4 separate regions of the Homo sapiens genome follow, and regions 1, 3 and 4 are each linked to region 2. The links are contacts of gene promoters, found by promoter capture Hi-C in human tissues and cell types (Jung and others, 2019). All regions are on one chromosome and are shown on one strand. The core of a region is centred on a gene start or on the middle of the fragment in contact, and the rest is flanking DNA. Distances in the headings are between cores, read along the strand shown.

The links. Contacts are between HindIII fragments. The study calls those that stand out against the background at their distance.
Region 1: a fragment that was not itself captured here is called in contact with the fragment with the promoter of NUDT6 in region 2 in 1 of the 25 tissues and cell types used here (mesenchymal stem cells).
Region 3: a contact is called between a fragment that was not itself captured here and the fragment with the promoter of NUDT6 in region 2, in 1 of the 25 tissues and cell types used here (lymphoblastoid cells).
Region 4: a fragment that was not itself captured here is called in contact with the fragment with the promoter of NUDT6 in region 2 in 1 of the 25 tissues and cell types used here (mesenchymal stem cells).

The regions. Positions count from the first base shown.
Region 1 is chr4:124,111,539-124,117,696 of GRCh38, forward strand. All of the region lies in intron 2 of LOC105377407 (a long non-coding RNA gene), which reads right to left. Among named protein-coding and RNA genes, the nearest start is that of LINC02516, 440 kb to the right of the region's middle. The HindIII fragment of the contact is 3,459 bases long and covers 563-4,021 here.
Region 2 is chr4:122,918,342-122,925,216 of GRCh38, forward strand. It overlaps NUDT6 (nudix hydrolase 6), which reads right to left and starts at 4,256. Exons shown (of 5, transcript NM_007083.5): 1 at 3,994-4,256. The coding sequence starts at 4,231. It overlaps AFG2A (AAA ATPase AFG2A), which reads left to right and starts at 4,737. Exons shown (of 16, transcript NM_145207.3): 1 at 4,737-4,964. The coding sequence starts at 4,802. RefSeq lists enhancers at 4,400-4,936, 4,729-5,098. The HindIII fragment of the contact is 4,244 bases long and covers 2,021-6,264 here.
Region 3 is chr4:121,918,385-121,924,861 of GRCh38, forward strand. All of the region lies in intron 3 of TRPC3 (transient receptor potential cation channel subfamily C member 3), which reads right to left. Among named protein-coding and RNA genes, the nearest start is that of TRPC3, 30 kb to the right of the region's middle. The HindIII fragment of the contact is 6,061 bases long and covers 1-5,356 here.
Region 4 is chr4:124,270,683-124,277,464 of GRCh38, forward strand. The region is part of intron 3 of LOC105377406 (a long non-coding RNA gene); the gene reads left to right. Among named protein-coding and RNA genes, the nearest start is that of LINC02516, 280 kb to the right of the region's middle. The HindIII fragment of the contact is 3,439 bases long and covers 2,000-5,438 here.

The DNA.
Region 1 (6,158 bases), core at 1,042-3,541, 1.2 Mb after region 2:
GAAATGGCTCCTACATGTAATGTCACTACTTTTACAGATGATTTAAGCTGTTCAATTCTTGGCAAGTGTTATTTTCAACCTTCCTTCCCCCTTCCTCATATAGGATCAGTTATAATTTATCAGCTCAGTAAGAGTTTCAGTCTTAAATGTGTTTCCTAAAGATGACTTATTTCTTCTTTAAAAAAAGGACTTTTTACTCTGGGCCAGAATATAATGACTGAAGTTTATATTCACCCTGTATTTACTTTAAAATGAACTTTTTATAAATTTTGATAACTTTTCTAGAAATGCATTAACATGGAGATGTAACACAAACTTTCTGACTCAAACCACTTAGACAGGCAGGTTTGGCATCCTCCTGAAACTGAATAGGTATGGAAACTGTGCTTCTTGACCCCTAAACATTCTATCTCAAGTCTGTCTGTTGCTAGTACAAAGACAGGGGCTTCACAAATTTTATACCTGAGCCAGGCTTCAAAACTGGCTGGGAAAATGGAGTAAGAGTGACCTTTAGTGGCCACTTGGAGTAATCACAAAGTAATTTATGTCTCAAGGGGACGGATGGACATTCTGTTTGCATGACTTCTTAACACAGCAATGTAATAAGTTGGAACTGGCTAACCATGAAACATTTATTTGACTTTTTATGTCACTCTATTCTAACAGAAAATCAAAACCCTATGAGTCAGTGTTCAGACAGCTGAAAAGGTAAATTTTTAATTGGTAAATGGAAATCTAGTCACACCTATTAAAGTGACTTTGGGGCTTCAATGCCTAAATCCGCTCACAAACAGATTTGGAAAAGTACCATTTAATTGAGGCAAAAATCCTTTGCTTTCCATGGGTTGATAAAAGCCACCTGGCAGTCTTTTGAACCTCAGAACTAAGCAGCAGGGGGAGGAGTTATGTATTAGCACCATATCTGATCTTAGAAAAGAAAGACTCTCTCCCAATGAGAATGAAAGTCACTATTAATGGGAATTAAATGTTCAAAACGTATATTTTTCTTTTTGTCAGGAATATTAGTGCTTACTTCTTTTCTATAATTCCACCTTAAGATGTAGAGAGCATCTCCATAATTAAGACATTTCACTCATAAAACCTAGGTATTGCTTTCTTAAATACATAGTTTCTCTCCAATAGAAGCACTTTCTGGTGAAAGATATATCAAATGCTTTATTTCTAATAAACCTCAAATAAAAATGTGACTAAGCAGTCAAATCAGCTAGCTCTTCTACATCCTCCTGAGTTCAATTAGCCCCTGGAAACTCAGGTGTATTTGCTGAGCTTGTTGCAAGGATAGATCCCCCAAATAGAGAGAAGCTGTCTATGCATGCCCTTTCTTTTCTCCCACATTCAACAAGTGGGAAAATACTTTCTTCTCCCATGGAAAAGGGTGAGTGGGGGCTGGAAAGAAGTCACGAGGGTGATTCTTGGGAATAAGGTTTCCTTCTACATTATTACAGACAGCCCAAATCTAAAACAACAAACAACATTTCTAAGTATACATTTGAAAGATTCTCTCCTCATAGCACACATTTGTTTTTAAAAAGCAATTACTGTCTTAGTCACTGTTAACAGGGCACATTTACTTAAAAGATTTCACAGGAGTTGTCAGCATATTTAGATCACAGGCCTTTTTTTACAGGAAAGTGCACAGTTCATCTTTAGCTGCTAATATCTCAGAATATAGAATTCAAGACCAGAAATGATTGAAAAAGACAAAGATGATGTTTATATACTGGTAAGGAAACAATAAAGGAAGACATAACCATCATGAGGATGTATTCCATAATAAAACCTCAAAGTATATAACGTCACAACTAACAGAAATGCATGGAGAAATAGATATATTAACCATTGTAGTTAGAGATTTTTAACATTACCTTTCAGAAACCAAGAAATCAAACATAAGAAAAAAAGAAAAAAGGCAAACATAGCATATGTAAAAAACATAATGTGCAAGTTTAAACTATTAGATATTTATACAGCTGTAAACCTAACAAAGATAAAATATGCATTTTTATTATAAATTGATAATTCATAAAAATTGACTTCTACTATTGCTCAAAGGAATCTTCAATAAATTCCAAAAAAGCAAATAACATACTGACTAGGTTCTTTGGCCATAATATTATAAAATTAGAATGTAGCTAACAAAATTTTGTATTTATAAAAACAATAATATGTGTTTTAGATTTCAAAAAGGAAATAATGAGGAAAATTATAAAATATTTAAAACTTAAAGAAAATGCATGTATGACATAAATGGTACTTAAAAATTTGAGCTTTAGAAAGTAACATTCTTCAGGAAGTAAAAATTAACTCAAAAAAATAAGAGAGAAGAAAATAATAAAGAGCATTATAATCAAGAACTTGCTAGTAAAGTTGCATACTTATATACAGGGTAAATTATGGGAAAAAGTATTAAATGTCAAAAAGGTAGAAGAAGAAATAAAACACTCAAACAGAACAGTGCAATTGAACTGATAATCAAAGTGTTAGAGCCTCCCACAACTGCTCAAACCCAGATTGTTTTATATTTGACATTAATCAACATTTAAGAAATAGTTATTTTTTATATTATATGTGTTTCTAGAAATGAGAAAACTGCGAAAGCTGTCCACCTTATTCTACAGGGTTAGTAGAATCTTGATTTCACAACTAAGCAAGAACAAAAAACAGTAAGGATATTATTGGGATATTTGCCTTAGAAACCTAGAGGCAAATATCCAAAACAAAATATTAAATAAATAAATCTAACATATTAAAAAATATACCAAAATCAAATGGTATTTTTAATCCCAGAAATGAGAAGATGATAAACATGAGAAACTCTTTCAATATTAAAGCTCTCATTAATAAACTGAGAAAGAAAATATGAGGATTTTAAAAGATGCAAATAGTAATTTGATAAATTTTAACATATTTATAATAAATAATTAGAAATGTAGAAATAAAATATTCCCTAATTTGAAAGATATTTTATATCAAAGTACCAGTAAATAGCATCCTTAGTGGAGAAGCTTAAAATATTTCCTTTAACATCAAGGGTACACATAAAACAAAGTTATCCTCTATCATTGCCACTATTTAGCATAAGACTAGGTTTCATTCAACACTCAAAGAATTTAAAAAGAAGAAATAAGAGGTGTAAGTCCTCAAGGAAAAGAGGACTATATTATGTTCATACAGTATGATTACCTATAAAGAAAAACCAAAGGAATCATTAGAAAAAAATAGAATAAGAGCATTCAGCAAGGTTTCTGGGCACAGGATTGACTAAGAAAAAAAAACAGTAGCATTTATCTGTTCTACTAATAAGCAACTGAGAAATATAAAGTGTTCATAAATTTACTTAATAAAGAATATATGATACTTCTATGGAGAAAAAAATCTAAATTTCAGTAGAATAATGTGCAAAGAGTTTAAGAGACAGTTCACAGATGAAGATTGCAAAAGGTTAAAAAGTAAATGAGAGAGGCTCAAGCTCATTGGTAAATAAAATGCAAATAAAAGCAACAATTGTAGATGTAAAACTCTATAGAATTTTACCATCAGTTTAGCAGAATCTTGAAAGGTGAGATACTCATAGCTATATAGAGTTATAGGTATCCTCCATGCACTGTAGGTGGGAGTATAGATTCCTACCTTTCAGACAACCATTCTGGAGAATAACTTGGCAATATTTAAACAGAGGAAATGCATATTCCACTACTCACCAGTCTTGCTCCCAGATTAATATTCTATGGAAATAAAGGTTATATGTACAAATGGTGATATGCACAAAAATTTCCAGAATTTTTGGAATTTGAGCATACTTCTCTGATAGAATGGTTAGTGAAATAGTGTGGGTGCATGCTTTAGAATATTGTAGCAGCACTTGAAAGGCTCATACTGGATATATAAATAGAAACAATCATGGGTGAGTCTTAAAAACATAGTGATGAGTTAAGTAAAAAAATTCATATTTATATAAATTAAAATACATATATAAATACAAAATAGTAATACATATTTTATGAGAATTTGTACAAGAAAAAATACTACATCAAAAGCATTAGGAAAGTAGCTTACAATGGATGGTATGGCATGGAGATAAAAAGGTGTAAATAAATAATACAAAAGAGGGGACATTTGTTCTATGGATCAATGACAATTGTATCATAAACAGAAGAGTGCGATTAACCCAAAGCTATGTATTTGAGGTAAAGAGGAAAAAAAGGCTTTAGATAATCAAGGAACCTACATATGGTTAAAAAAGAGAATGTTTTATTGTTATTTCCATCTGATACAAAGTATTATGGGACTCTGTTATTTTAAATAATTAAATCTGAAAATCCACTTAACAGTACTCATAAATGACCATATTCTGAAAGCAAGGAATGGAAAAAAAGGACCATTATCTACTTCTGAGAGTGAGGACTAGCTAGCCCTCTTTCCCCTCATGTGTGATATGTTACTTCTGGCATACTGACAGAGTGGGGCAACAGTATCCATCTTATATTACATGTTAGAACATTTTACTACTTTCTTATCATTCTGGCACATCTGTGGATCATTTAGTGCATGTCCACTTTGAAGACCACTGTTCTAAAGGAGTATCAACCAATCTGATGAACTAATTTGAACATTGTAATGTGTATGTTTATATGCAGCTGTCTATGTAAATGCATATATGCAATCATCCTTTTCTGAAAACTTTTCACATTACAATTGACCCTTGAACAACATACATTTGAACGGCACAGGTCCACTTATATGTGAATTTTCTTCCGCCCCACCATACCAGAGACAGCGATTCCAACTCCTCCTCCTCAGCCTACTCAATGTGAAATGATGAAGGTGAAGAATTTTTTGATCAACTTCCACTTAATGAATAGTACATATATTTTCTCTTGCTTATGATTTTCTTAACATTTTCTTTTCTCTAGCTTATCTTATTGTAAGAATACCATATATAATACATATAACCTACAAACTATGTGTTAATTGACTGCTTATGTTATCAGTGAAGCTTCTGGTCAACGATAGTCTATTAGCAGTTAAGTTTTTGTGGGGCTCCAATGTTACATGCAGATTTTTTACTCCCTGGGGATTTGGTGCCCTAACCCGTGTATTGTTCAAAGATCAACTGTACGATTTTTTAGATAAGTAACAAAGAATAATTTATGCTATTTTCATTTGCAAATACCATCTTAAAAATATGCAGTTATTAGGAAGTGATTCAGAGACTCATAAGGAGAAAGACTGAAAATGTATGTGAAAGAAATAGTGCAAATCAGAGAGTAAGAGGTGATTGTAACCAGAATATTCTCATGTTTCTTGTAGACTTAGCACAGACAGCTTAAACCGTGCTAAAAGGATAATTAATTAAGTACAGTTAACTGAGAGGTTTTTCTGTTATAGTAATATCCTGTTTACTTAACATCTTTTCTCCTTTCAGAATTTTGCAATAAATTCAGGGTATTAACTAGATAAATAAAAATGCAGACAGGCACACAGGTGCACACACACACACACACGGAATAAGATAGTATCTTGAAATATTTATCTTTGTGTGTTTTTTTTTATTTCTGCATGTCTCTGCAAATTAGAAACAAACACATTTCTTTGAATAGAGTTCGAATTGTAATAAAGGAAAGGTAAAGAAAATGAAACAGTTAAAGCACCTTTTCTCCCCAGACTAGGCTCTCGAAAGTCCAAAGTTTCAAACCTGAGCAGGATAAGGCATAGAGGTTTTGATTCAGCAAAAGATTTAAAAATGTGTAGTGGGAGAAGCAATCAATATTTGCCTGTGACATTGCTTGGCCGAGCTGCATGCATCTAAATTAGCCCAAGTGGACAGCCACATTTAGAGAGCCAGGACAAGCATATGTCAACCCCACTGAAATCCAGAGAGGTGGTAGTGGCAAAGGGATTTAGGAGATTTTCATAGCACTTATATTTGAGTGAGACATGACGGTGATAAAAACCTGCCCCTGCGGAGCGTGGTGACTCACGCCTGTAATCCCAGCGCTTTGGGAGGCCGAGGCGGCGGATCACGAGGTCAGGAGATGGAGACCATATTGGCTAACATGGTGAAACCCCGTCTCTACTAAAAATACAAAAAATTAGCCGGGCGTGGTGGTGGGCGCCTGTAGTACCAGCTACTACTC
Region 2 (6,875 bases), core at 3,006-5,505:
CTACTTAAGATTGAGCCAGGGGAAAAAGATGCTAATATCTATTTGAAACTTACTAAGTTCCAAGCACTTTATATATATTATCTCATTAAGTGCACAACCATGAAAGGTATTACTACCTTAAGTTTATGGGTGAAGAAATAAATACTTCAGATTTAGAGTTTTTAGAAAAGCTTTTCAGATCACTTTCTTCATCCATCATCTCACTTAATCTTTATAATAACGCTATAAAGCGTGTGTGTGTGTCTGTCTTTGGGGGTTGATTATATATCAAATAGTTAATTAACTTTCCCTTCTCTTTTCCCTAGCTCTGCAGGAAGCTCCTCTCTTTAAGGACAATGTTCTCTACCTCTTTGAAAGTTGCTGTGCCTAGCACAGTGACAGGCACATGGGGCCTTTAATAAAGACTTCCTGATTTGAGTTAGCATGCAGTGGAATTATGGGATCAGGTCCTTCTCACCTTGCTCTCTTTGTCTGATGACATCTTTTAAAAATTGAGGTAAAGTACATAAAGTGAAATGTACAAATCTTAAGTGTACATTTCATGCGATTTGACATATGCATATGCCCGTAACACACTTTAACATTATAGAACATTTCTATCACTCCATACATTTCACATGTGCTCCTTCCCAGGCAATCCTTCCAATCAAATTAAAAGGCTACTTTCTAAAAGCAATGCTATTTGCTTGCTGTTTTATATCTACACTCTGTGTCTTGGAGAATCCACTCTCACTGCTTCAGCTGATACATACATGAGGATGGCTGCCCAGCCCTGACCTCACTGAACACTAAACTTTCTGTTCTCCAGTTGCTCCCAGACATTTCCTGTCCTGAAGGTTACCACTTCAGACTTCACAAAGTGTGTTCAAAACTGAATCTTTTGTTGTTGTTGTTGAGACGGAGTCTTGCTCTGTCACCAGGATGGAGTGCAATGGTGCAATCTCGGCTCACTGCAACCTCTGCTTCCTAGGTTCAAGCGATTCTCCTGTCTCAGCCTCCCAAGTAGCTGGAATTACAGGTGCGTGCCACCATGCCCAGCTAAGTTTTGTATTTTTAGTAAAGACGGGGTTTCATCATATTGGCCAGGATGGTCTTGATCTCTTGACCTCGTGATCTGCCCGCCTCGGCCTCCCAAAGTGCTGGGATTATAGGCGTGACCCACCGCGCCTGGCCAAAACTGAATCTTACACCCCAAACTAGCTTCATTTATAAGCTTATTTATTTCTGGCACCAATGCTTGAAACCTTAGAATCATTTTTAAATTGCTTTCTTCTTTTCCCTAATAAGCTTTATTGCTTTTTCTTCCCTCACCTCCCATTCCCATTGCTAATATCTATCCTTTAAAGTCCAGCTCATATTCCACATCTTTGACCAGTCTTTCCTAACCACTGCTCATGAGCTCACCATTATGAATTTAAAGACTACTATGTCTGTACAATTTATTAGAACTTATTACATATGACCTAATGATATCTCTTCCATTAGCTATTTTTTCCAATTCTATTTAATATTCCATGCATTTGCAATCCTCCAGGGTAACCCTACATTATGCACTGGGGCTCAATTTGTACTAATGAAATGACTGGCTTGCCTAAAGTCACATAGCTGGTGAGTGGCATAGCAGGGACCAGAACCAGTGCTATTTCATTACTGATGCAGATATGTTATGTGTGAAGCTAACAACATATTGCCTGTTTATCCCTCTAACTTCAGTTGTTGGTAACAAAACATCAATAGTTCATGTTCTAAAAGAATATGAATAGTTGACTTCTTATTCCACCAAGAATATGGACTTCTTAGTCCATAAAGACTAAGAATAGCGGACTTCATGTGTAAATAGTCTCTCTTTATAGGCACTACCATTCAGTTAGTTTTGTTCAATTATAACAACAGAACCAGCAGGAGTTCTTCAAGGTAGCATAGTGCAGTAAGAAAGGTGTAGAGCCAGGGCAAGTAAATTTTTCTCTCTGTGCCTCACTACTGTCATCTTTAAAATAGGAATAATAATGCTATCTACCTCAAAGGGTTGTTAGGAGGATTAATTACTATTTATAAAGATCCTAAAACATCTACCATTAAGTGCAACAAAATTTGTTTTATTGAAAAAATATAACAAGTATTTGGTACTTAAGTTTACAAATTAGTTTCATCTTTGATCAACGCATCTATCCAGTAATTAGAGCTGGCGTTATTCACAAAAAGCAAGCTAAGAAGCAAATATTTTTGGTGGCAATTTGCCTAATGCCTGGCTAAGCACATGGCAGAACCTGGTACTTAAACCCAGAATGTGCACCTCCAAATCGCACAGCTTTCTGCTTTGTCATGCTGACTGGGGTAGTGCTTTGATCACCTGTTTGGTCATTGATAAGTATCAGTGGGTACAACACCTGTGTCTACCCACACACTGGAAGATAAAACGATTGATTCTCCTATTAGTGACACTGTTGCAGTATAAGCGGGCTTGTCAGCAATTACTAGCAAGTAGGAGAGAAAATAATGTGAAGAGGTAAGAAGTCTGGGAATGAGGATGAGTAAACATTGAAATAACTAGCTCAATTATATTTACAGATATGCTTCTTGCCATATTGCTCAATAGGATAAAGATTATTTTGAGTTTCCAGTGTGAGAGATTTTTCCATAGTTGAATTTGCATGCTATGCCTTCAATTAGATTATAAAACCCTCAGAGGCCGTTTGAAAAACTGCTGCACCACTAAATCGACTTCTTCCAAAGTGAAGGCTCCTCCATCCAAGCTTTCTTATCATTGGGCTCAAGGTTGAAAGCCAGTAAAAAGTTTTCTTATTGAAGACTGAAACCACCCACCACCGTCCCTGGTTAATCATAAAAGAAGCGTTATTCTAAAAAACTCCAGTTCTCGCTGAGACAGCTGTTGACCCAATTTGTATACAAATGTGACACTCTGAACCTCTCTGGTTTAGTATTTGATAGCCCAACAGGGTGACTATATTCAATAAAGATTCAGGCTGGGTGCAGTGGCTCCTGCCTGTAATCCCAGCACTTTGAGGGGCCAAGGCGGGAGAATCAGTTGAGCCCGGGAGACTGAGACCAGCCTGGGCAACACAGTGAGACACCGTTTCTAGAAAAAATAGAAAAAAGCCAGATGCGCGCCTGTAGTCCTAGCTACCCAGGAGGCTGAGGTGGGAGGATTGCTTGAGCTCAGGGGTTGGAGGCTGCAGTGAACCCTGATCCTACCACTGCACTCTAGCCTGGGAGACAGAATGATACCCTCTCTCAAAAAAAAAAAAAAAAAAAAAAACAAACTGTACATTTAAAAATAACTAAGAGTAACTGGATTATGGTTGAATGCTTGTGGTGATGAGTATCTCATTTACCCTGATGTAATTATTACACATTTATACCTCTATCAAAATAGCTCATATACCCCATAAACATACACACCTACTATGGACCCACAAAAATTAAAAATAAAAAAGAAAAGCCTCTTTGGTCCACTCAGTCCACCACCCGTATTAGAATGTAAGAGTTTTTTTCCTTGGGAAAAGTGTCCGACAGAACCAAGGCTCGGTAAAGGATACTAATAATGTAATAATATAATATTAACAAACATCTACTGAGCTTTAAATACGTGGCAGGCACTGTGCTGTGCACTTTATGTGCATTATCCAAATTAACTCTCAGTAATTCCAGGAGTTCTTATCACCGGGGTCTGTGGAAGAGGAAATGGTGGTTTACGGCAATTTCCGAATGTCGCACAGTAGAAAGTGGACCAGCAACCAGGGTTGCAGATCCCAAAGTCCGGGATCTTCACCATTTCACCCAACCGCCTTAGAGACCTCCCAGCAAAAGGTCTAAGCACGAATGCTCCAGAAAACAGGTCCAGGTCACGCGTGCCTTCTCCCTTTCCCTCTGGGCTCGACAGTGGTGCACAGAGCGACTAGGGAGTGGGGGCCGCGGTTATTTCATTAGAAAAGCTCTGGAGCCCCGGGAGCCCTTCGTCCCAGGCGCACTTGCCCTGCAAGCCCTTCTGGAAGGCGGCAGCGTCCAGGCGGTCCAGCGCATCGAGCCGCGCCAGGCGCACCGAGATGCCCCCGAATCTGTCCAGCTCGCCCTGCAGATCGCACGCTCCAACTGGCGGATTCCGCACGTAACCCTGTGCGCCCGAGGCCCAGCGGTAACCCGCCGAAGGCCCGGGGCCGTAGGTTCGGGCAAGCATCGCGCGCCAGCGGCCCCAGCTCAGTGGCTGCCGCATCTCCACGCCGCTTAATTCGTCCGTTGCCCAAATGACCCCTCCGCGCTCCAGAGCGGAGATCGCGGCCGTACATTTTAGAAGAGTGCCATCAATACCCTCAGAGTTGAGCTGGGGTTACCACTCTGCAGAGCTATGCCAAGGAGACCGCGAAGTGGTCCACCAGCCCTTCTCAGCAATTTGCCCCGCTCCAGTTAAGCGGGGAAAACCTCCTCCCCCACCGCCACTCACTTATTTTGTTTGGTAGTTTAATTCAACAGACGTTGGTTTAGGGATGGGGAAGCCGGGAGGAGATGCAAAAACGTCCTGTTTTTCAGGAATTTACAATCTAAGTGGCAGTTCCGTTCCTGGAACCTATCTTCTTTCACAGATGCCGTTACAGCTGTTTCAAAGACTGCTGGTTTTGAAAACGCTCAGTCCCTCCCACCACGCTGTGCACTGCTGCGCTCCACTCAGGGGATTACGGCGCAGGGGCGGACCCTCGCTGACTTCTGCCCCGGAAGTTTTTCTCTCAGTTGAAGCGCGCACATTGAGTCGGCTTTTCTACTGCTTCGGCTAGGGTACCTTGTGACCATGTCTTCCAAGAAGAATAGAAAGCGGTTGAACCAAAGCGCGGAAAATGGTTCGTCCTTGCCCTCTGCTGCTTCCTCTTGTGCGGAGGCACGGGCTCCTTCTGCTGGATCAGACTTCGCGGCAACCTCCGGGACTCTGACGGTGACCAACTTATTAGAAAAGGGTAAAGAATTCCGGGTGGGAGACTAGAGGCCGAGGGGGCGCAACCTGAGGGGCGGGAGACTCAGTGATACTGACTTGGGGTGCAGAGACTTTTGAAAGTTGGGCGTGGCATGGGTCTGAGAGCGGCACAGAAGCGTGTAAGACTTCTGTATGTAAGAAGCATGCAAACGTAGCCGCGCCTGCACTGGAGAAGTTAGGCTGAAATGGTTTATCCGTGTCCAAGGTTTCTCTTTTGTAAATTATTTTGAATTTTTAAGTTGCACTTGAAACGCTTTGTCTCATTTAACATTAACGACACATTTAATTGCAAAATTGTTCATAACTAGCGAACATGGGATACTTATCCTAAAAAACTAAATAACCAATTCAGTAAAAATGTGGATCACTCTGCCTTTAGGAGTGATGATAGCATTTTCTTCCAGTACTACGCAGGTTATGATATTTAATAACTGCTAGTAACTGCACACTAGTGTTAGCAGTATATATAGCTCATCTAATTTCTACAGAAGCCGTGACCGATGGGTATAGTAATGACAGTTTTATAGAGGGAGGAAAGTTAACGTGATTCCATTCAGGCTACACAGGTGCTAAGTGGCAGAGCCGATATTTGAGTCCAGATGTGTTTGACTTAAAAGCCATTCCTAGATGACAGCTCCTTTGATTTGGGAGAACGTATTTATACTGAAAAGTCTTATAAATTGAATTAAAAATTGAAAATTTATATTTGATGTGTAATAGCTTTGAAAAATGGACCAGACTAGTGGCAAAAACTTTTATGTCTAATCAGACCTTAAAGACAATTTAGAGTTCACATGGTATTTTCACTCTGCCTTAGGTATCAGAGGACAACTTGTTCTGTCCTGAAGGTTCAACTTGTTTTTGAACTAGATCCTTCCCATTGACATGTAAACATGCTCATTTCTCTTCCATCTTAAATCAGAACAAAAGCTCCACATTTTCTTCCTGCAACCGTCTCTCTATCCATTGCCAAGCTTCTTAAATGGAGTGGTCTCTGCCGCCTCACCACTTACATACTCTCCCTAGCCTATTCCTCTTTGACTTCCACCCCATCATTCCATGGAAACTGTTCCTGGTGTGGTCTCCGAGCATCTCCGTGTTGATAAACCTTACGTGACCACAGCAACTTTTGGTATTGTTGACCATTCCCTCCTTCTCGAAACACTTAACTTCTTATGTGTTGTCAAACTTGCCTGGTTTTCTTCATCTTTGTTGATGTTTCATCATTTTTCTTTGCAGGCTCGTCCTCTTCCCTTGACCATTAAATGTTGAAGTTCGTCAATTCTTAGTCCAAAACCTTTTTTTTCCTCTCAATAAATCCTGTCTCCTTGGCAAGTTCATCCAGTGCCCAGAGTTTCCCATCTATAGTCTCTTCAGTGTCAGATTTATATTTGTAAATCTTTTGTTTTTGCGCCTTGATGTGGTTGCCTTTTAGCCAAATGCTTCTCAAGCTCTCTGTGGTGAAGACTTTAAAATTTATAATAGGTCACAGATCAGCACTTTTCTAAAATACAGTAAAAATGATTTTCTAGAAAAATAAGGAAAAATTTTTATTAAACAGATGTGAAATTACTCTGTAAATTTCAATAAAAGCTTCTATATACTTATTCTCCTGTTTTGTACTTGTCATGAAGCAGTAACAAATCGTTGTGGGTCATATTTTGAATAGCACTGTACAATAACTCTTCTCATGAGTGTCCCAAAGATACTTCAGGACTAACTTCATGAGCCCGTTATTTCCTCCAACAAAATAAACTTCAACTCTGTTCAGTTTTTCCCGCTGCAAAATTCAGAAACCTAAGAGTCATCCATGACTCTCCCCCCCATATCTCACATACCTAGTCCACCACTAAATCATGTTTATTACCTAAATATTTTACATATTCCTCTTCTG
Region 3 (6,477 bases), core at 1,076-3,575, 1.0 Mb before region 2:
GTTATAGCATATCTCCCTTTCCTACTCCTCCTCCTTGGACTAATTTTTAAATTTGAAGATGTGCTTTATGTCATTAATTACATATTTATAAAGATTGCACAGCTTCAAAGACTTGATGGACTCAATCCTTCCCATATGGCATATATGTGATGGTCAATCTTTGACTTGATGTAACCTGTACTACAGTGCAAACACTTACTCTACATTAAGTAGTAACCAAAATTGTGGGTGTTTGCATTTTGCCTGTTACACTTTAAAATTCAGCTTAACAGGTCTATTTCCTATGCTTCTAATTCTACTCTTTTTTTTGAGATAATTATACACGACTTCATGGATTCTGTCGATTCCATTTAATCCACACAAACAGATTTTCCTCCAATGATGTAAAATCCTAATGCAAGTACACAAGGAGCATTTCAAAAAAGAAAGTAAAGCCAGTACAATAATAGCAAGTGAAGGCAAAAAAGCTAATCCCTTTAGGAGATGAGTTTTGGTCTTTTCAATGACTTCGAAATAGGGCAGTGACCTTTATACCTGAAAAGTGTTTTACCTCCTGAAAAATCTCCTTATGTCACTACACCAGTTATGCCCAACTGGATAACATTTGTATGCTGTTTCCTAACTTCAGTGGACCAGCAAATTGAAGTCATAACAAAAATAATACCCTTATTTTGAGTTTTCTGATTCAAAGAGAGAATGCTTGACACAAGAAAATCTCAATCTTTCAATTGGACAATCAGCATTGAGAACAACTGAAATGTTTTTTCTTGCCAAATAACTAATAGATTATAAACTGAACCACTGATCAGGGCAGGCTAGGGAAAACAATCAAATTTTAAACTTAAAAATTAATTCATGTTACACTGTTTTTCATCAAATCAGCCTTCACAAGAACTGTCTTCATGGGAATACTGTTGTGTAAAATCATGGTAGGAACTCTGGATTTGTTTTTAATGATACTGTTAGAGCCACAATTCATACAATTTAAAGGAACATATTCTTGTAAATAAAAACTAGGCAATTCAACTTCTTTTAAAAACTCAATGACTTGTGAAATATAAACCTAAAACTTATATTGCACAGGTTTTCTGGATTTTCAAACTTGCTGAGTGCAAAATGCTCTGTTATCTCTTGGTGCCTGGGGAAGACCAGGACAAGAGGCCACACAGTGCAGGACACAGGACTGTGCCGGCCAGCACACCCGTTCCAACGTCTCAGTGGTGTATTTACCACTCTCTCATTGCATTTCTTTAATTCTGGGCTTCCCCTGCACACTTTTTGCACAGAAAGTGGATACACAATGGATGCTTTTATCCTGTTTATACTGCTGCATGTTTCTTTTTAGGATGGCTTTTCTACATTTAAATCTAATCCTACTATGGAGGAAATATTAATAGGAGAGCAGAAACGAAGAACTCAGGAAATGTTCTCCTTCTCTTTCTGAGAGCCCAGTTTTCCAGATTCAGTGGTCTACCAAGCTCTAGTATCTTTTGTCAAAAACTTTCTCAAAATAGACATAGCTCACGGTGAAGTAGGTAGAACTTTGGTTATTTCTATGGTGGGGAGTGGATTAATGTTCAGCTGCACATCACAGAGCAGGATAGAGGTAGAGTCAGAATTAGAACTCAAGACTTTTGGTGGGGGGCAAATAGTCCATTATTCTAATTAAACAAAATTAGTGTTTTTGCCTAAAATTTAATTTTCTTGTACCCATTTTCAGAAAATCAAATTTCATCTTCCAGTGTATTCCATTCTCTTTTCAAAGAATAATATAGGTATTTCTATAAATAGTAATAGTGTTCACTATCCTTCCAGTTTTAAAATTTACCTTACAGACCCCTTAAAAATGATTTTAGGCTGGACGCAGTGGCTCACACCTATAATCCTAGCACTCTGAGAGGCTGAGGTGGGCGGATCACTTGAGGTCAGGAGTTCAAGACCAGCCTGGCCAACATGGTAAAACCCCGTCTCTACTAAAAAAACAAAAAATTAGCCAGGCATGGATGATGGGTGCCTGTAATCCCAGCTACTCGGGAGGCTGAGGCAGGAAAATTGCTTGAACCTGGGAGGTGGAGGTTGCAGTGAGCCAAGATCTCGCCACTGCACTCAAGCCTGGGAGACAGAGTGAGACTCCATTTCAAAAAAAAGAAAAAAAAACAGATTTTAGGATGAATAATCTTCAAAATCCATTCCCTGTTAGTAAAGATGCAGGCAGATGGTTGCTCTTTTACTATCAGCATTGAGAATTGTAAATTTTTATTCTTTGTTAGTTTAAGAGAAGGAAAATGGTATTTGTACATTAGTATACGTTTATCACTAAAAGGTCTGAAAATTTTAAATATGCATGTTAGCCATTTGAATTTTCTCTTCTGTGACATGCCTATTCAAATCTTTTGCTGATTTTTCTACAGGGCCCTGGATGTTTTCCTTACAAATTTGTTTGAGTTCTTGGGATATTAAGAAGATCAATCTTTTGTGAGATACAATCGAAAAAACATTTTTCCTAGTATGCCCTTCACTTTTTTGTTTATAATCTTTCTGATGTCATACAGAGGTTTTAAATTATATGTGGCCAGATTATTTGCATTTTTGCTTGGAGATTTCTTCGCTTTTATATGAGAAAGTCCTTTCCAACATAAACATTAAATTCACGGTCATGTATCTCCTATTCTGGTGTTTTATATATTCATTTTCTGGATTAACTGTCCTTGAGTTCTGTAAGGCCTGTGTTGAACTCATGCCTTGATTTCTAGGAAAGACCAGATCTCTGGGAATCCTGAGCCCAGTTAGAAGACAATAGACTCAGAACCAGAGCTGGGAGTAGGTCTTGGGCAGAGGGTAGAAAAAAGACTTCCTGGCCGGGCGCGGTGGCTCACGCCTGTAATCCCAGCACTTTGGGAGGCCGAGGCGGGCGGATCACGAGGTCAGGAGATCGAGACCATCCCGGCTAAAACGGTGAAACCCCGTCTCTACTAAAAATACAAAAAATTAGCCGGGCGTAGTGGCGGGCGCCTGTAGTCCCAGCTACTTGGGAGGCTGAGGCAGGAGAATGGCGTGAACCCGGGAGGCGGAGCTTGCAGTGAGCCGAGATCGCGCCACTGCACTCCAGCCTGGGCGACAGAGCGAGACTCCGTCTCAAAAAAAAAAAAAAAAAAAAAAAGACTTCCTGAGTCTCATATGCGGCCAATATTGGCTTACAATTAGATAAGAATGGTTTCCTTGGTGGAATTATGGGTTGATTTGAATAAATATGAGTTTATTATGTTATCAGGGGGTGGGGGAGTCCATAACATATAAAGTTACTTTGAAATCCCAATGGCTTGCATATGGCTGTGGACTACCTCTGTGCCAGAGTGGGCAGGGTTTGTGCATCATTATAACCCAAGACGTGGTTTTGCTTGGAGACTAGAAATGAGATGGTGGGAAAAGGAAGCAGCAGGAGTGGGTGGGGTGATATTTTTCCTCCTGTGAGAATGAAGATGGGTGAGTGTTGACTGAAAACGAAGGAAGCCTTTGTTTTTTGGGTTTTTTTTTGTTTTTTTTTTTTTTTTCGAGTCGGAGTCTCGCTCTGTCGCCCAGGCTGCAGTGCAGTGGCGTGATCTTGGCTCACTACAAGCTCCGCCTTCCGGGTTCATGACATTCTCCTGCCTCAGCCTCCCTAGTAGCTGCAACTACAGGTGCCTGCCACCACGCCCGTCTAATTTTTTTGTATGTTTTTTAGTAGAGACAGGGTTTCACCATGTTAGCCAGGATGGTCTCGATCTCCTGACCTCGTGATCCACCTGCCTCGGCCCCCCAAAGTGCTGGGATTACAGGTGTGAGCCACCGTGCCCGGCCATGAAGGAAGCCTTTGAAAGGAAGAAAGAAAGGAGAAATTGGGGCTTTGCAAGTATTCTAGAATAGAATTCTTACACACATTTATTATTCTAGAACAGAATTCTTACATACATTTATTATTCTAGAATAGAATTCTTACATACAGTTATTGAGTGAAGATTCCAAATCAAAGACTCTAATTAATACTCCTTTTATAGCATAAAACAAACAAAACCAGAAGTTTGCAAAAGTCCTAAATCTCCTTACAGTTCTAACTTTTTTGTTGTTGCCTGATGGTTGACTGATACCAATTTATTACTAACGACACCTCATACTTTGTAACCTACATGCCAATTTATTTAAAATTGACATGCAGGAAGACATAAACTCTGCAAGGCAGTTTAGTTGACTGAAGCACAAGTGTAGATGAGGTGTCTCTGCTCATATAACACTTCCAAAGCAATGATAAAAAACCAGTGACAATTGAAATCAATTCTCTCAGGTGCCAAAGAAAAGAGATACATATTGCAGGATGTGTGAATATATGTCTAGACAATTTTCTAAAAAACAGTTTACTATCAATCTTGCTCAAAACTATCCTTTTCCCTCAATATATTAATAACAAAACCTCAACTAGCAAGAATGCTCTGAGAGGGCAATCTAGCCAATTTAATTATCTTGTAACATACTTTCCTTGAAAAGTTGTTTTATTTCAATCTTTACTGAGAATCTTCACATTTGACTATCTTATGAAGTAGAGAAGAGATCTGCCATTAATGGTTGACCAAAATCTTGCAAATACTATGTGTAGAAGTTTTCTACATTGTGGTAGTAGAATTATGTGTGTCAGAAGAGAGAGAGACAGAGAGGAGGGGAGAGAGAAAGAGGAGAAAGAGACACAGAGAGAGAGAGAGAGATTTCCCCATCCTCACTTGCTGCTAGGGTGCAAACATTGGCTTAGGTTCCACTGATCAGTGGAAGGGGCCATATGAAAACAGGCAGGATGCAGAGCATCCTTTCTATGCTGATATGGGAGCAGCAGAGGCAGAATTGTTCTGTTTGGGCCACAGAAACTCCCTTAACAGGTCAGCACTGTGCCTGGTTCTGGGTGAGGTTTTTGGAAGCACAGCTTAGATAAGCTTGTTCCTCTACCTCCTCTTAGGATTCTGTGAGCTTCCTCAATATCACTTACTAAATTCCTTCCTGCCTAAATCAACTCCTCTTACTAAGGACTTGATTCAGTACAAGGGGCATGAAATCTGTCTTTGACGAGTGAGGATTAACTAGCTTAAGAGTCATCACTCTGGGTATGAATTTTCATAATGTAGAAATGTTATTATTAATAGCTAATACTTATTGAGAAATACTTATTGAGAAATCACCATGTACTACTGTGTGCTAATCACATGCATTATCTCATGCAATCCTTAAACAAATGAATAAGTAGGTACAACTATTGTCTTCACTTTACTAGTGAGCAGATGGAGGCTTGGATGGTTAGGTGACTTGCTCATGGTCACACAGGAGCACATGGTGATGTCAGGACATGAATCCTTACAGGTTGGCTCTAGTGCCTGTCCTCTTAAGCACCATGTCACACTGCAGAAAAGACAGAACACTTGGCTCTTTGTAAATTGACCAACTTCATAAAACCAGAGCTGATAACAGTTTATTTCTTTGTGATTTATCAGTTTCTCTTAAAGTACAAGAAAGTCTGTTATATAACATGTATAAAGTATTGGATTCTGGATAACTGAGATATTTATTATTGTGAAACATAACTACAATTTTTGTGAATTATTTAAAAGCCCCATACAAGTTAGCAAATAGATACACATAACAGTTTTTCTGCAATAATCAGAGTAAAAAAATCATAATTTTTATTTCTGGCACCTGCATGACCAACTCCTTAGTTATGTGACCTTAGACATGTCATTGAAGCTTGGCAATCCTCAGTTTCCTTGTAGAATAGAAACCCCATCATCTATCTGATGTATTTTATAGATAAAATGAATAATAACATAGACTTGCTGCAAGGATTCACATAACAATGTAAAAATGCCTTACAAAAATGTATACAAGTAACAGCATTATTAATTGTATTGTAATTAACAGTTTACAGAGTGCTTTTGCATATCTTAACTCATTTAAATTCCACCAAAACCCTGAGATAGATAAGAGATATTATCCTCCTTGTACATGAGGGAACTGAAATTTAAAAATTTATGACTTATTCAAGGTCCCACCATGGGTAAAAAGTAGAAAGGATCAGAAGCTACACATTTAACTTGCAACTTTACCCCCCACAAAAAACTCTTTTATCAATAGCATCTATTTTTTTATTTTATTTTTTGAGACAAGGTCTTGCTTGCTCTGTTGCCCAGGCTGGAATGCAGTGGTGCTATCATTGCTCACTGCAGCTTCAAATCTCCTGGGCTCAAGTGATCTTCCTGCCTCAGCCTCCTGAGTAGCTGGAACTACAGGCACGTGCCACCATGCCTGGCTAATTTTTAAATTTTTAGTAGAGACAGGGTCTCGCTATGTTGCCCAGCTGGTCTTGAACGCCTGGCCTCAAGTGATCCTCCTGCTTCAGCCTCCCAAAGCGCTGGGATTACAGGCCCCAAAGTGCTGGGATTACAGGCACATGCCATCATGCCCAGC
Region 4 (6,782 bases), core at 2,469-4,968, 1.4 Mb after region 2:
TGTGTGGTGTTATTTCTGAGGACTCTGTTCTTTTCCATTGGTCTATATCTCTGTTTTGGTACCAGTACCATGCTGTTTTAGTTACTGTAGCCTTGTAGTATAGTTTGAAGTCAGGTAGCGTGATGCCTTCAGCTTGGTTCTTTTTGCTTAGGATTATCTTGGCAATGTGGGCTCTTTTTTGGTTCCGTATGAACTTTAAAGTAGTTTTTTTCCAATTTTATGAAGAAAGTCATTGGTAGCCTGATGGGGATAGCATTGAATCTATAAATTACCTTGGGTAGTATAGCCATTTTCACAATATTGATTCTTCCTATTCATGAGGATGGAATGTTCTTCCATTTGTTTGTGTCCTCTTTTATTTCCTTGAACAGTGGTTTGTAGTTTTCCTTGAAGAGGCCCTTCACATCCCTTGCAAGTTGGATTCCTAGGAATTTTATTCTCTTTGCAGCAATTGTGAACGGGAGTTCACTCATGATTGGGCTGTTTGTCTGTTATTGGTGTATAGGAATGCTTGTGATTTTTGCACATTGATTTTGTATTCTGAGACTTTGCTGAAGTTGCTTATCAGTTTAAGGAGATTTGGGGCTGAGACGATGGGGTTTTCTAAATAAACAATCATGTCATCTGCAAACAGGGACAATTTGACTTCCTCTTTTCCTAATTGAATGCCCTTTATTTCTTTCTCTTGCCTGATTGCCCTGACCAGAACTTCCAACACTATGTTGAATAGAGTGGTGAGAGAGGGCATCCCTGTCTTGTGCCAGTTTTCAAAGAGAATGCTTCCAGTTTTTGCCCATTCAGTATGATACTGGCTGTGGATTAGTCATAAATAGCTCTTATTATTTTGAGATACATCCCATCAATACCTAATTTATTGAGAGTTTTTAGCACGAAGGGCTGTTGAATTTTGTCAAAGGCCTTTTCTGCATCTATTGAGATAATCATGTGGTTTTTGTCTTTGTTTCTGTTTATGTGATGTATTACGTTTATTGATTTGCATATGTTGAACCAGCCTTGCATCCCAGAGATGAAGCCAACTTGATCATGGTGGATAAGCTTTTTGATGTGCTGCTGGATTTGGTTTGCCAGTATTTTATTGAGGATTTTCGCTTCAATGTTCATCAGGGATATTGGTCTAAAATTCTCTTTTTCTGTTGTGTCTCTGCCAGACTTTGTATCAGGATGATGCTGGCCTCATAAAATGAGTTAGGGAGGATTCCCTCTTTTTCTATTGATTGGAATAGTTTCAGAAGGAATGGTACCAGCTCCTCTTTGTAACTCTGGTAGAATTCGGCTGTGAATCCATCTGGTCCTGGACTTTTTTTGTTGGTAGGCCATTAATTATTGCCTCAATTTCAGAGCCTGTTATTGGTCTATTCAGTGATTCAACTTCTTCCTGGTTTAGTCTTGGGAGGGTGTATGTGTCCAGGAATTTATCTATTTCTTCTAGATTTTCTAGCTTATTTGCATAGAGGTGTTTATAGTATTGTCTGATGGTAGTTTGTATTTCTGTGGGATCAGTGGTGATATCTGCTTTATCATTTTTTATTGCATCTATTTGATTCTTCTCTCTTTTCTTCTTTTTTAGTCTTGCTAGTGGTCTATCAATTTTGTTGATCTCTTCAAAAAAAAAACAGCTCCTGGATTCGTTGATTTTTTGAAGGGTTTTTTGTGTCTCTATCTCCTTCGGTTCTGCTCTGATCTTAGTTATTTCTTGCGTTCTGCTAGCTTTTGAATTTGTTTGCTCTTGCTTGCTTCTCTAGTTCTTTTAATTGTGATGTTAGGGTGTCGATTTTAGATCTTTCCTGCTTTCTCTTGTGGGCATTTAGTGCTATAAATTTCCCTCTACACGCTGTTTTAAATGTGTCCCAGAGATTCTGGTACGTGGTATCATTGTTCTCATCAGTTTCAAAGAACATCTTTATTTCTGCCTTCATTTAGTTATTTACCCAGTAGTCATTCAGGAGCAGGTTGTTCAGTTTCCATGTAGTTGTCTGGTTTTGAGTGAGTTTCTTAATCCTAATTTGATTGCACTGTGGTCTGAGAGACAGTTTGTTGTGATTTTTCTTCTTTTACATGTGCTGAGGAGTGCTTTACTCCCAACTATGTGGTCAATTTTGGAACAAGTGTGATGTGGTGCTGAGAAGAATGTATATTCTGTTGATTTGGGGTTTGAGAGTTCTGTAGATGTCTATTAGGTCTGCTTGGTGCAGAGCTGAGTTCAAGTCCTGGATATCCTTGTTAACCTTCTGTCTCATTGATCTGTCTTATATTGACAGTGGGGTGTTAAATTCTCCCATTATTATTGTGTGGAAGTCTAAGTCTCTTTGTAGGTCTCTGCGGACTTGTTTTATGAATCTGGTGCTCCTGTATTGGGTGCATATATATTTAGGATAGTTAGCTGTTCTTGTTGAATTGATCTCTTTACCATTATGTAATAGCCCTCTTTGTTTCTTTTGATCATTTTTGGTTTAAAGTCTGTTTTATTAGAGACTAGGATTGCAACCCCTGCTTTTCTTTGCTTTCCATTTGCTTGGTAGATCTTCCTCCATCCCTTTATTTTGAGCCTATGTGTGTCTCTGCACGTGAGATGGGTCTCCTGAATGCAGCACACTGATGGGTCTTGACTCTATCCAATTTGCCAGTCTGTGTCTTTTAATTGGAGCATTTAGACCATTTACATTTAAGGTTAATATTGTTATGTGTGAATTTGATCCTGTCATTATGATGTTAGCTGGTTATTTTGCCCATTAGTTGATACAGTTTCTTCCTAGCATCGAAGGTCTTTACAATTTGGCATGTTTTTGCAGTGGCTGGTACCAGTTATTCATTTCCATGTTTAGTGCTTCCTTTAGGAGCTCTTGTAAGGCAGGCCTGGTGGTGACAAAATCTGTCAGCATTTGCTTGTCTGTAAAGGATTTTATTTCTCCTTCACTTATGAAGCTTAGTTTGGCTGGATATGAAATTCTGGGTTGAAAATTCTTTTCTTTAACCATGTTGAATATTGGCCCCCAATCTTCCCTGCTTGTAGAGTTTCTGCCAAGAGATCTGCTGTTAGTCTGATGGGCTTCCCTTTGTGGGTAACCTGACCTTTCTCTCTGGCTGCCTTTAGCATTTTTTCCTTCATTCCAACCTTGGTGAATCTGACAAGTATGTGTCTTGGGAATGCTCTTCTCAAGGAGTATCTTTGTGGTGTTCTCTGTATTTCCTGAATTTGAATGTTGGCCTGTTTTGCTAGGTTGAGGAAGTTCTCCTGGGTAATATCCTGAAGAGGGTTTTCCAACTTGGTTCCATTCTCCCCATCACTTTCTGGTACAGCAATCAAATGTAGATTTGGCCTTTTCACATAGTCCCATATTTCTTGGAGGCTTTGTTCAGTTTTTTTTTACTCTTTTTCCTCTAAACTTCTCTTCTCGCTTCATTTATTAATTTGATCTCCAATCACTGATACCCTTTCTTCCACTTGATCAAATTGGCTACTGAAGCTTGTGCATGCCTCATGTAGTTCTTATGCCATGGTTTTCAGCTCCATCAGGTCATTTAAGGTCTTCTCTACACCGTTTATTCTAGTTAGCCATTCGTCTAATCTTTTTTCAAGCTTTTTAGCTTCCTTGCTGTGGGTTCAAACACCCTCCTTTAACTCGGATAAGTTTGTTATTACCGACCTTCTGAAGCCTACTTCTGTCAACTCCTGAAAGTCATTCTCCGTCCTGTTTTGTTCTGCTGCTGGCGAGGAGCATTGATCCTTTGGAAGAGAAAGGGCACTCTGTTTTTTAGAATTTTCAGTTTTCTGCTCTGGTGTATCCCCATCTTTGTGGTTTTATATACGTTTGGTCTTTGATGATGGTGACCTACAGATGGGGTTTTGGTGTGGATGTCCTTTTTGTTGATGTTGATACTATTCCTTTCTGTTTGTTAGTTTTCCTTCTAACAGTCAGGTCCCTCAGCTGCAGGTCTGTTGGAGTTTGTTGGAGGTCCATTCCTGACCCTGTTTACTTGGGTATCACCAGTGGAGGCTGCAGAACAGCAAAAATTGCAGAACAGCAAATATTGCTGCCTGATCCTTCCTCTGGAAGCTTTGTCTCAGAGGGGCACTCAGCTGTATGAAGTGTCATTCGGCCCCTACTGGGAGGTGTCTCCCAGTTAGGCTACATGAGGGTAAGGGATCCACTTGAGGAGGCAGTCTGTCCATTCTCAGAGATCAAATTCCATGCTGGGAGAACCACTGCTCTCTTCAGAGCTGTCAGACAGGGACGTTTAAGTCTGCAGAAGTTTCTGGTGCCTTTTGTTCAGCTATGCTGAATGGAGTCTCATTCTGTTGCCCAGGCTGGAGTGCCATGGCACGATCTCGGCTTACTGCAAGCTCCACCTCCTGGGTTCATGCCATTCTCCTGCCTCAGCCTCTCAAGTAGCTGGGACTATAGGTGCCTGCCACCAAGCCTGGCTAATTTTTTGTATTTTTAGTAGAGATGGGGTTTCACTGTGTTAGCCAGGATGGTCTTGATCTCCTGACCTCATGATCCGCCCAACTCGGCCTCCCAAAGTGCTGGAATTACAGGCATGAGCCACTGCGCCCAGCCTAAAATTTCTTACTTATGAAGAAAAAACCTTTTAGCCAAGGCTTGCTTTAATATTTTTACCTTCGGTGCACTCAATCCAAAATTATCATGTCATCAATATTGTCTGATTTCAACTATGCTCTGCCTTGCAAGACTCACCTTAAAATCACTCATCCCAAGCCCTAAAGGTCTAAAAATATTATTCACTGAATTCTCCTTTCCAAGAAACTACTGTCCAGATTACATTGTCTCTTGATGAAGTAAGTTTCATAAACATAGCCTTATTTGATTAACAAATATTTTAAGTGATATTTTGGGGAGTCAATGATAATAGTAATAAAGACAAAAACTGGATGGCACAGAACATTTCTGCTGAAATTCCACAGGCCAGACGTTTGTTATTTGGACATATATAGGTCAAAATTTTAGTATTAGGTTGTGTAGATTTGTGCCTGATTAAAAGTGTATCATAATAGGAGAAAAAAGGATTCTGGGTGACTAGTAGTGATCTTTCACTAAACCTCTGATTATGGGAATATTCATAGTTATCATTCTTCCCACTCACTCACCATTTCCCAAGGAAGACTCAAATAATTCCTAGTCAATTATTATCCAGCCATGTTATTTGAGTGATATGCAGAATTTTCCACCAGGTATGGACAATGGATCAAGCAATGTATAAAATAATAGACAATTACCATGAATCTTTGCCTTCCGTATTTAGTAGTGGACCAGAAATAAGATAGCTATCAACTTTCCATTTTGAAAAAGGACAAGTAGAAAAATGACATTCATAATAATAAAGGGGTCCTAAGAAGCAGAAATTATGAAGATTCCCTGTCAAGGCAATAGAGTACTTATTTTGGTTAGCATCTGTATCTACTTTCTGGGAAGAACTTCCTTATCTGTTGTCCTCCATGAGATCTGAGGGACTTTTTCTTGTCTATTGTTGTCTTTGGCCACATTTGACGTGGCCATGCATACACATACACATGCATACACATTGCATGCATACACATGCATGCACATTGGAGAGTATACATGCTTGGGGGTTGCACAATCTTATTTTGCAGGTTGGAGATTCAGGGGTTTACTTAGGAGTAGGTTAATCATAAACATTTGTACTTTAGAGTGGCAATGTCTTTTTTAATACAAGTACCTAAAATCTAGTAGGCTTTCAGTCTATATGTTTGTAGTCAGTTTCATGTGACATTAAATACAGCCAAGGATCTTGCCTCCTCATAACTTTTAAACCCACCCAAATCCTTTTTAGTTACTGGCCTGTTAAGCTGGCTCATGTCTTTTCCTCAATTTAATAGCAACTACCTTGAGGCTATCTGAAGCAATAGGGATTGAAAAACAACTCATTTAATCTAATCTGTGATCTGGGCTGAGTTCCATTGTCTGGTCAAGATCTCTTGAGTCAGACAGAAGGCCCTCTAATAAAGTTCAGGTCTCAATCTTATCCCATTATGTTTAGGGGTTAGCAACCTTGGCTCTCCAACATTGTTTAAGGCTCAAAATTACTTGACTCACATCACAGTTTATTTAGATTACAGGATGCAGGCAAAGAGTTTACCTTATCAGAACACATTACTTTCCACATCTGCTTGAGAACCCCTCATCAGAATTTCTCTATTTCTCTCCAGTGATTTGTTTAAAAGATGCAAACTGTTAGCCAGCACACACAAATATTCTGATTTTTTTCTGATGAGTTCCACTAAAGTTATGGGCTCTCCGGACATTTGATTTGCTTTTTAAATGATCACAGGTAACAGTTTCACCACATTCAGTTAATGGTCATAGTATAATAAGTATCACTGGATTTCTAATCAGTAATTTCTGTATTCTCAACATCTGCTGCTTTCCTGCTAAGCCAAATTGCATAAATCTTCTATAGGTACTCTAGCATCCTCCTTGTACAAATATTTATTTTAAATAGATGTCAAATACAATTACTTTGTTTTTAAAAAAATAAACATTTATTTCTCTCTCATGTAATAGTCCAGATACAGGCAGTTGATCCAAGATGGATAGGCATCTCTGCCACATTGAACAAATGGCTTCTAGTTATGGGTTTAAGAAAGTTTTTCTGGCTCTCACTAGCTCCCAGCCACTTGAAAGGGAAAAGGCAACATCAAAGTACACACTCAGTTTTGTTTTTTGTTTTTTTTTTTGAGACAGCATCTTCCTGTGTTGGCCAGGCTATAGTGCAGTGGCACA